Linked DNA regions of Homo sapiens: region 2 is linked to region 1. The links are contacts of gene promoters, found by promoter capture Hi-C in blood cells and fetal thymus (Javierre and others, 2016). All regions are on one chromosome and are shown on one strand. The core of a region is centred on a gene start or on the middle of the fragment in contact, and the rest is flanking DNA. Distances in the headings are between cores, read along the strand shown.

Evidence for each region. Contacts are between HindIII fragments. The CHiCAGO score rates a contact against its expected background, and 5 or more counts as called.
Region 2: a fragment that was not itself captured here is called in contact with the fragment with the promoter of SAR1B in region 1 in 1 of 17 cell types (activated CD4 T cells); the score reaches 5.4 in activated CD4 T cells.

The regions. Positions count from the first base shown.
Region 1 is chr5:134,629,712-134,634,965 of GRCh38, reverse strand. SAR1B (secretion associated Ras related GTPase 1B) reads left to right here and starts at 2,138. Exons shown (of 7, transcript NM_016103.4): 1 at 2,138-2,238. It also overlaps the pseudogene RNU6-1311P. RefSeq lists an enhancer at 1,687-2,243 and silencers at 2,217-2,266, 2,317-2,426. The HindIII fragment of the contact is 3,405 bases long and covers 1-3,213 here.
Region 2 is chr5:133,965,712-133,971,516 of GRCh38, reverse strand. C5orf15 (chromosome 5 open reading frame 15) reads left to right here and starts at 2,892. Exons shown (of 3, transcript NM_020199.3): 1 at 2,892-3,071. The coding sequence starts at 2,933. It overlaps LOC105379183 (a long non-coding RNA gene), which reads right to left and starts at 2,828. Exons shown (of 2, transcript NR_134247.1): 1 at 2,725-2,828; 2 at 1,294-1,766. RefSeq lists enhancers at 2,749-2,968, 3,599-3,698. The HindIII fragment of the contact is 344 bases long and covers 1,608-1,951 here.

The sequences.
Region 1 (5,254 bases), core at 889-3,388:
GTTTAAAGCTGAATACCTGTGTGCTCTCTTTGGCAGCACATATACTAAAACTGAAATGATACAGAGAAGATTAGCATGGCCCCTGCACAAGGATGATAGGCAAATTCATGAACTGTTCCATAGTAAAACAAACATACAAAAAGGCTGACTACGGCCAGGTGCAGTGGCTCACAACTGTAATCCTAGCACTTTGGGAGGCCAAGGCAGGTGGATTGCCTGAGCTCAGGCATTCAAGACCAGGCTGGGCAACACGGTGAAACCCCATCTCTAATAAAATACAAAAAATTAGTCGGGTGTGACCAGCCTGGGCAACACCATGAAACCCTGTCTCTACTAAAACACAAAAAATTGGCCAGGCATGGTGGACTGCGCCTGTAATCCCAGCTACTTGGGAGGTTGAGGCAGGAGAATTGCTTGAACCTGAGAGGCGGAGGTGCAGTGAGCAGAGCTCAAGCTCGCACCATTGCACTCCAGCCTGGGCGACAGAGTGAGACTCCGCCTCCAAAAAAAAAAATGCTGACTATCTGACTACACTCCTGTAATCTCAGCACTTTGGGAGGCAGAGGCCGGAGGATCGCTTAAGCCCGGGAGTTCAAGATCAGCGTGGGCAACATAATGAGACCCCTATCTCTACAAAACAATTCAAATATTAGCTGGGCCTGGTGGCACACGCCTGTGGTCCCAGCTACATGGGAGGATTCCTTGAGCCCAAGAGATTGAGGCTGCAGTGAGCTATGATAGCACCACTGGACTCCAGCCTGGGAGAAAGAGCAAGACCGTCTATATATATATATAATTTTTAAATTTATTTTTAATTTAATTAATTTATTTATTTTTTGAGACGGAGACAGAGTCTCGCTCTGTCGCCCAGGCTAGAGTGCAATGGTGCAATCTCGGCTCACTGCAACCTCCACCTCCCGGGTTCAAGCAATTCTCCTGCCTCGGCCTACCGAGTAGCTGGCGTTACAGGCACCTGCCATCATGCCTGGGTAATTTTCGTATTTTTGTAGAGATGGGGTTTCACCATGTTGGCCAGGCTGGTCTTGAACTCTAACCTCAGGTGATTCACCCACCTTGACCTCCCAAAGTGCTGAGATTACAGGTGTGAACCACCGCGCCTGGCCAAGACCGTCTATAAAACAACTGAATAACCAGCTGAATAAAAGCTGAATAACCAGCATCCAACACATTATCTGGTACGTAGCTACATTGTGTAAATCACTGGTGAATTCAATAAGCACAAATAACAAAAAAAGAAAAAAAAATGAATTCAATAAGCACGTGTACTTTGAAAATGTATTTTAGGCAGGGCGCGGTGGTGATCCCAGCACTTTGGGAGGCTGAGGCAGGTGGATCACTTATGCTAGGGAGTTTGAGACCAGCCTGGCCAACATGATGAAACCCGGTCTCTACTAAAAATACAAAAATTAGCCGGGCGCAGTGGCTCACGCCTGTAATCCTAGCACTTTGGGAGGCCGAGGCGGGCGGTTCACTTTAGGTCAAGAGTTCGAGACCAGCCTGGCCAACATGGTGAAACCCCGTCTCTACTAAAAATACAAAAATTAGCCGGGCATGGTGGTGCGCGCCTGTGCTCCCAGCTACTCAGGAGGCTGAGGTAGAAGAATCGCTTGAACCCGGGAGGCGGAGGTTACAGTGAGCTGAGATCGCGCCATTGCACTCCAGCCTGGGCGACAAAATCGAGGCTCCGTTTCAAAAAAAAAAAAAATTAGCCGGACAGTGGTGGCGGGTGCCTGTAGTCCCCGCTACTGGGGAGGCTGAGGTAGGAGAATCTCTTGAATCCAGGGGGTGGAGGCTGCAGTGAGCCGAGATCGTGCCACTGCACCCCAGCCTGGGAGACAGAGCGAGACAACGTCTCAAAAAAAAAAAATGCCAAAAGTAATTTCCCCTAGGGAGGCATGGGGTGTTCCTTTCTCGGCACGCAGGCCCCTAAAATCCCTTCGGGCGGGCGGGTGTGGGGAGACCAGGCGGCTGGGAGACCCAGGCGGTGTTAGGGGTTGCGAGCAGCCTCGCTCAACTGGGGAATTGGCGGCAAGACTGCCAGGAGGCGGAACCTAGGGCGCTCGGCGACGCGGTCCTGCGGACTGTCGCTAGTGAGGCACCCGCCGGCCCGGAAGGGGCTGATGCGAACTGGGGCCACGGCAGCCATCGCGCTTTGCAGTTCGGTCTCCTGGTGTACGGCCAACGCCAAGTAGGGGATTGCGTTCCCTCCAGTCGCAGGTGAGTGACAGCCCCTCCTTCTGGGAGGACCGGTGGGCAGCAGCTATGGATCCCCTAGAAGGCGCACTTTTAGGGCCAAGACCTACTCTGAGTCCCTGCCTGTGGCACTGCGTGAAGGGGCGCCTGTTTTTCACCCCGGGGTTAGGCGGCGCGAGGGAGGACAGGTCTCATCCATGCTCCGCGGGGCCGTCTGATAGCCCTCGAGGCAGAACACTGCTGCTGTCAGACGCTTGGTCTTTTCAGGAAAGAACGAGGTGGCTGCAGGCAAGCCCCTTCCTTCCCCTGGGCCTCAGTTTCCTTACCTGGTAAGGTGAAGGTGGCGGGTCTCACTGACAGCTGAAGAGGCTGTGACACGGCCTGGTGTTTTCAGCGCTCCCAATTAGTGTAGAGGCAAATTGAGCTTCCTTACTAGTACTGGTTAACGTTTTCCGTAGCCCAAAGTCCCAGTTAAGTGGAAAAAAGATACACTGTTGAGAAAACTGTACTGATTTTTGTTTTAATTTTTTAAATTTTTGTTGTTGTTTTGAGACAGAGTTTCCCTCTTGTCGCCCAGGCTGGAGTGAAGTGGCACGATCTCGGCTTACTGCAAGCTCCGCCTCCCGGGTTCACGCCATTCTCCTGCCTCAGCCTCCCGAGTAGCTGGGACTACAGGTGCCCGCCACCACGCACCGCTAATTTTTTTGTATTTTTTAGTAGAGATGGGGTTTCACCGTGTTAGCCAGGATGGTCTCTTATCTCCTGACCTCGTGATCCGCCTGCCTCGGCCTCCCAAAGTGCTGGGATTATAGGCGTGAGCCACCGCATCCGGTCTAACTTTTCTATTTTTAGTAGAGATGGGATTTCTCTATGTTGGCCAGTCTGGTCTCCAACTCCTGACCTCAGGTGATCTGCTCGCCTCGGCCTCCCAAAGTGCTGGGATTAAAGGCATGAGCCACCTCAGTGGGCCACTGTACTGATTTTTAAGGTGTTGAAGCTTTTCCAAGAAGATTTGTTTTAAAACAGCTAAAACTTTGACATTGTTAGCTGAAAGAACCAAATTCGTCAGCAATTTAAGGTGTTTGGTACAGTGGACAAAATGAGGTGAAGAAGTCCTTTTAACTTGAAAAATTAAACATAGTATTATTTATTTGTGTGTTCTTACATCAGCCTCTATATTACTAAGTGTCTTTGAAGACGTCCTATATTCCGTGTTAAAGTATCAGTGAAGAGTAGGTCACATTGAAACAATGAAAGAAGGAAAGAAAAGGAACATTTATTGACTACTATGAGTAAGGCACTAGCTGTCATTTTACAGATGACAAATAAATGGTGGTGCCAGTATAGCAAAGCAACATGATTATCTACTATTATACCTTTCAGTAGACTTGTGTCTGTCACCAAAATGTTTTGAACTTAAAAAATGTTAAGATAGTTCATTGGCATTTTCTGAGTTTGTAGAAAAGGAAGGTGTCTTCATTTTAGAAATGTCAGAGATGCACTGTCAGTAATTACAAAGATTAGCAGTTTAAATAAGGTATATTTTAACCTTCCTTTGACTTGCATTATTGTACTGGAATAGAAATTCAAGCAAGAATTAAGAAAAAAGATGAGTCTAACAGAAATGAAAATCAGCCTGGGCAACATAGCAAGACCCAGTCTCTACATTAAAAAAAAAAAAATTTGCTGGGTGCAGGGCCCTGGCTAGCAGGCCAGTAGTCCCAGCTACTCGCTGCTGAGATGGGGGGTTTGCTTGAAGCCAGGTCAAGACTACAGTGACCTGTGATCATGCCACTGCACTCCAGCCTGGGTGAAAGAAAAAGACATTGTTGCTAAAAAAAAAAAAAAAAAAAAAAAAAAAAGAAAAAAAAAGAAATAGAAAAGGAAATGAAAATCATTGCCACATCATTTGAAGCTTACAAGTTGGAATGCTATATTAGTATTTCTTTTCTTTTTTCTTTTTTTTTTTTTTTGAGACGGAGTCTCGCTCTATCGCCCAGGCTGGAGTGCAGTGGCTCCAGGCTGACTGCAACCTCCACCTCCAGGGTTCAAGTGATTCTCCTGCCTCAGCCTCTCAAGTAGCTAGGATTACAGGCATGCACCACCACATCCTGCTGATTTTTGTATTTTTAGTAGAGATGGGGTTTCACCATGTTGGCCAGGCTGGTCTTGAACTCCCGAACTCAAGTGATCTGTCCGGCTTGGCCTCCTAAAGTGCTTGGATTACAGGCGTGAGCCACTGTGTCCTGCTATAGGTGTATTTCTACACTTACTTTTTTTTTTTTTTTTTTTTTTGAGATAGAGTTTCGCTCTTGTTGCCCAGGCTGGAGTGCAATGGCGTGATCTCCAGCTCACTGCAACCTCTGCCTCCTGGGTTCAAGCGATTCTCCTGCCTCAGCCTCCCGAGTAGCTGGGATTACAGGCATACACCACCACACTCAGCTAATCTTGTATTTTTAGTAGAAACAAGATTTTTCCTTTTTGGTCAGGCTGGTCTCGAACTCCCAACCTCAGGTGATCCGCCCCCCTCAGCCTCCCAAAGTGCTGGGATTACAGGCGTGAGCCACCTCCCCCAGCCTTCTACACTCATTTCGTTAAGTACTCACTTGGCTGAGCATAGTATTTCTACGCTCGCTCACTTTAAATACTCATCCCAACTCGGGGTTTCACTATGTTGGCCAGGCTGGTCTCGAACTCCTGACCTCAAGTGATCTGCCTGCCTTGGCCTCCTAAAGTGCTGAGATTACAGATATGAGCCACTGTGCCCAGCCCTCACCTTGGCCACTCTTAAAAATTTTCTACTATTTATATTTGTCATGGTTTTATCCTTCGTTTTCTTTTTCTTTTTTTTCTTTTTTTTTTTTTTGAGACAGAATGTTGCCCTGTTGCCTAGGCTGGAGTGCAGTGCCACGATCTTGGCTCACTGCAACCTCCGTCTCCCGGGTTCAAGCAATTCTCATACCTCAGCTTCCTGAGTAGATGGAACTACAGGTGCCTACCACCACACCCAGCTAATTGTTTTTTTTTGTTTGTTTGTTTG
Region 2 (5,805 bases), core at 530-3,029, 660 kb after region 1:
CTTGCCATGGGGTCCCCTCCATCGCCAAAGCCAGAAACAGAAAAACTCCCTCATGTGAAATCCCTCTCACACTTCCAGTCTCCTCCAGGTAGAGCCCCAACTCTTTTAAGGACTCACCTGATTAGGTTAGGCCCAATGAGGGTAATCTCCCTTCAAGTTAACTGCCAGGTAAAGTAACCTAATCACTGGTAATATCCTTTCATGTTTGTAGGTCCCTCCATATGGGTCATGGGAAGGGGTGATTTTGGAATTCTCCCATATATTTATATGTTTTTAATAACTTGATGGTGGATTTTTTTTTTTTTGAGGCGGAGTTTCATTCTTGTTGCCCAGGCTGGAATGCAATGGCGCACAATGTCTGCTCACTGCAAGCTCCGCCTCCTGGGTTCAAGCAATTCTCCTGCCTCAGCCTCCCCGCCTCCTGGGTTCAAGCAATTCTCCTGCCTCAGCCTCCCGAGTAGCTAGGATTACAAACATTTGCCACCACACCCGGCTAATTTTGTATTTTTAGTAGAGATGGGGTTTCTCCATGTTGGTCAGGCTGGTCTCAAACTCCTGACCTCAGGTGATCTGCTCACCTTGGCCTCCAAAAGTGCTGGGATTACAGGCGTGAGCCACCACATCCAGCCTATTGTGGAAACACAAATAGTAATAAACTCTATGCATGATCCAGCTTCAACAAATATGAACATTTTTTTCCATTCATGATTTTTCAGCAGAATTCCTTTTTTTTCTATGTTTGAAAGTGACATTCAAAACAGGAACCATCTATTTTAGCATTTTATGCAACTGATCACCCAAAAACTGTGGGCCTCAGTATTTGTCATACTGTCTTCAGGGACTTGCAGCTATTTCTAAGTGAATGTTCATAGAATTTATCCAGAGATTATGGCACATAGTGGTTGCTGGGTACATCTAGTCAGATGTCAGGTACAGTATTAAGATATTTTACTTTTAGAGACAGTCTTACTCTGTCACCCAGACTGAAGTGCACTGTCATCATCATAGCTCACTGCAGCCTTGAACTCCTGGGCTCCTGTGATCCTCCCATCTCAGCCTCCCGAGTACTTGGGATTACAGGCATAAGCCTGGCCCTAAAATATTTAAAAATGTATAAAGGGTTCTCTTGAGTATGAGGGAATATTTCCCTCACTAGTTACTTATTGTCTGCTTGTTGCATGCAGCATGTTGGAATATCATTGTGCAAAATGCTTTGAGTTCATAATATCTCACCAGTTAAGAGAATTGAGACAATCTGGTATGAGGACACAAATGGACAAAGTGGACAATGAGTCAGGGAAGAGGACTGCAGTGTGTTTATTATAGATTAACTTTAAAGTCAACAAGCAGAAACTAAGATTGAGAAGCTCATTTGTTGAACTGAGTGGTTTTACAGAAAACTTAAGTACCGCTCAGAGAAGGGAAGCTCCTGGGGGACTGGGAGGACTTTGCACCTTGGCTAAAGTGGAGAGTTTGCAATAAGGACACCATTCAGTCTAATACGGGCTTCTGGGGGATTTCGGGAAATGTGCAGATGAATGACTTCTTAGTTTTCTTAACACAGAGTTTGTGTGTTTCTGAGCTGTCACCAGGGTGAGATAAAAGCTTAGGGGAAACCAGATTCAGGAGTAGAACACAGGCCCTTTAGAGAGACAGCTCAGCTGTGTCTCTGGGGGATAACAGCAATCTTCGCAGGGAATCATAGAGACCAGAATGGTGAAGCTGTGGGCACAATAAATGTCTTGCTTAACGTCACATTGATTTTCCTGAAATTGATCAAATGGAACTTTTATGAATTGAAGCCTGTATCTGTTTATTAAGGAGACATTTACAGAACGTACACACAGAGCAAAGTATGGCGCCAGGGCCCTAGGTGAACTTCTTGGAAGTTTGTAAGTTTGCATTTTTATACACTGGGGATTTCAAGTAACAAAATTTAAAAAGAGAAGCTTATTTTAGGAAATCTGAAAGTTATTTTCAATGGCAGCCCCTCACCTCTACTTCCTAGCTACCTTCCTTTCTTTTCCTCCATAATTTTTTTTTTTTTTTTGAGACGGAGTCTGTGGCCCAGGCTAGAGTGCAGTGGCATCTCGGCTCCCTGCAGCCTCCACCTCCCGGGTTACAGCGATTCTCCTACCTCAGCCTCCCGAGTAGCTGCGATTACAGGCACGCGCCACCACGCCTGGCTAATTTTTGTATTTTTAGTAGAGTCGGGGTTTCTCCATGTTGGCCAGGCTGGTCTCCAACTCCGGACCTCAGGTGATCTGCCCTCCTCGGCCTCCCAAAGTGCTGGGAGCCACTGCACTAGGGCCGGTCCATAATATCTTTATCATCTTGTATAGTGTGTATTTTACACCATATTCGCCCTCACAAGAAAATAAACTGCCAAGGCGGGCGGGGGGGTGGGGGGTTCTTTTTGTTCACTGCTGTATCTTAAATAGGGAGAGGTGCTAAATCTTTGTTGAAAAAAAATAAATGACTGTCGGGAAAGATTTTTAAAAATTACTTATAATCCCATCACCGAAATAGGACTACTTAACATTTGTGTTTCTTTCGCCTTTGAGAGAGGAAGAGCAGTTACTTCGCTTTCGTGATCAGTCTGTTCTACAGCTGGATCTTCCTTTTTAAAATGGCTAAAAACGCTATTTTTGGCTGTATAGTACCCAATCATGCAGGCGGCAGGGAGGGGCTCGCTTTGGCCCTCTTCAGCACGTCACACCCTACCTTTAATCCGCAGCCAACTGTGTGGCGGTCCCCACTTTCGCCTAGCGGCAACTCCCTCCTCCCTGCAATCCTTCCTTCTTATTCCGGTTTCCAGAGCACGTCTCCAGGCTTCGACGTCACCACGCTGGGACGTATGTGCCGAGGGCCGCGGCGTCTGACCTCATGGCGTAGAGCCTAGCAACAGCGCAGGCTCCCAGCCGAGTCCGTTATGGCCGCTGCCGTCCCGAAGAGGATGAGGGGGCCAGCACAAGCGAAACTGCTGCCCGGGTCGGCCATCCAAGCCCTTGTGGGGTTGGCGCGGCCGCTGGTCTTGGCGCTCCTGCTTGTGTCCGCCGCTCTATCCAGTGGTAAAGGGGGGCGGCAGTGTGGGCTTAGGAAGGCTAGGAGGGCTCGGGCGCAGGGCAGGAGACAGGCCGGGCCAGGGAAAGGGCGCTTCCAAGTGTCAGGAGCAGACGGCGGTGTCTGGTTGGGTCAGGGTCTCCGCGGGCCTGAGGACGGAGGGTATGGTGTCTGAAGGGGTCCAAGGTGGTAGGGTCTCCAAGGGGCCTGAGAAGCGGGGTCCCTGAGAGATGCAGGAACCCAGGGAGCAGGCAGCAGGGTGTGTAGATGGGCGGGGAGGGAGGAGTGGTGTTAGCGCCTAGAGATCGTTGAAGAATGGGCTGCCGCAAGGAATGGCGGTGGTGGGGTCTCCAAAATTTCTTGGATCGGAAAGTTAGGAGACTCTGGAAGAGAGGGTGGCGACAGGGGCTGAGGAGGTGGCCGGGGCTGGGGGTGTGGTGTCTGGAAAGGGTCCTGAGTTTGGGGGACTCAGGAATCTTGCAGGACCAAGGAAAGGTGGGGGTTTTCCAGAATGGGAGAGGTCAGTGGTAAAGACCGAGGCGGGCAGGGGCAGTAATCCAGTGACTGGACTGAACCAATGGAATATTTCCGAGAGGGAAAGTGAAAGGGAAAGAGCTGTCTTAGGGTACTGGTGCATATTTGAAGACTGGGAGGTTCTGGTGTTTGATAAAGATTCAGAGTACTGGGGCGTTGGGCCCCTGAAGGCTTGGGAGGCAGAGAGGAGTTTGGAGACAAGGGAGATCATGATTCCTCTTCCCTGTGTTCCGAGTTAACCAGGATAACCCTGCCTCGTTTTAATGCATCTGTAGGATTTGATTGATAAAATATTTCATTTCTTGCAAATGTTGCATGGTGAAATCAAGAGATTGAAGGCTTTTATTGAGAAATTAGGAAATCTGTAAACCAGTGCCTGATACTTGGTGGGAAAAATCCACTATTAAGAACTTGTAAGGATTAAACGGTATTTTGTTTAGTAGTCCCATTTTTCTTTCAGGCCAAGACACAGTCCTGCGTTTCTCCCTAAATTTGAATTTTCAGCTGCAAAACAGTGTGACCTGGTATAGTGTTTTCTTTCTTGCCAGCAGGGCCTGTCCAGCCCTACATTCCTCTGCGACAGTACTGTGGGTACATACTTATGTTTCCTCAGCAACATTTCAGTGTTGCTAACTGGACGCCCTCCCAGAAGTCTTTGCAGTCCCTGAGGAAGGACTGCTGTCCATTTCCTAAGGCCCTTTTATCATTAGTGAAATGTAATGAGGATTTCCCTGGTTGATGCAGATATTCCCGTTCCTAAAGTACTTAAGTAGCTTAATTGTTTTGGCCATTTAATCATCTAAGAAAAATAAAACACAAACATTTATATTTCCTGCTGGAATGCTTAAGGGATATATATCTGGCAACTGTAGTTTCAGAAACAGCTTTTTTCCCCTAAGAGATGGTTGAAAATTGGGCAAGAAGTGAGGCAGAATGTGGACTGTTAAGTGTCCTTTAGTCTCTGCTTTTATTTGTTAGAGCCCTATAAATATTTTTCTAACTATACTGAGACATTTTAGAGAATCTTTATCTTTTAAATTAAGTCTTTACATACACCAGTTTAAAATGTCATAAATTCAGATTATTCTGTCCTGAAAAGAAGCTAAATGAAAACGAACATACATGTCTTTAATAGGCGAGCAGCTCCACTGCACTACAGTGTAGCTTGGGATATAAGTATTTTTTGTAAGCATACCTTATAATTTCAAAGTAGTCACTCCTGTAATAAGAAAATTAGTCTAGAATGTGTTGAGTTCCAAATTTCAAGTGAGTTTACAAAGGTAGAAGGTTACCACATTAGATTTATTTAAATTTGTTCCATATTAGGTTTTAAAAACTGTCAATGCTTGGTTATATGCTCGTCAGTCTGTAAGAATTTTTGTTTTATGTTTTTGTTTTGATCAAGTCTAAAAAATTAACATAAGCAGTTTGGATCACTGGGTGACTAATTCTTGGTCATGCCATTTCAAAAATGCCTGGTTCTCTACATTTGCCATTATATTGTCCCCAAATGATCACCTAAACTTAATGTATAATGCATTTCATTTTTAAGGCATTGTTTCTCAAACCAGTGTGTGAATGAGTTCTCGGGGTCCTCTGCATTCTTAAGTTTAAGAAATGCTGATATAGTTTTATTTTAGGGCAGTTTTTAAAAAGGGACCAGTAGAAGGGGAGAATTAAATTTATAAAGTTTTGTTTTTTGTTTTTTTTTTGAGTCTGTCGCGAGGCTGGAGTGCAGTGGCGTGATCTCGGCTCATTGCAACCTCCGCCTCCCGGTTTCAAGTGATTCTTCTGCCTCAGCCTCCCGAGTATGCTGGGACTACAGGCGCGCACCACACCTGGCTAGTTTTTGTATTTTTAGTAGAGACGGGGTTTCACCGTGTTATCCAGGATGGTCTCAATCTCCTGACCTCGTGATCCGCCCGCCTTGGCCTCCCAAAGTGCTGGGATTACAGGCCTGAGCCACTGTGCCCAGCCTTTTTTGTTTGTTTGTTTGAGACAGGGTTTTGCTCTGTCGCCCAGGCTGGAGTGCAGTAGCACAAACTTGGCCCATTGCAACTTCCGCCTCCTGGGCTCAAGCAGTCCTCCCACTTCAGCCCCCTGAATAGCTGGGACCACAGGTGCCTGCCACCGTGCTCAGCTGATTTTTGTATTTTTGTAGAGATGGGGTTTTGCCATGTTGGCCAGGCTGGTCTTGAATTCCTGTGC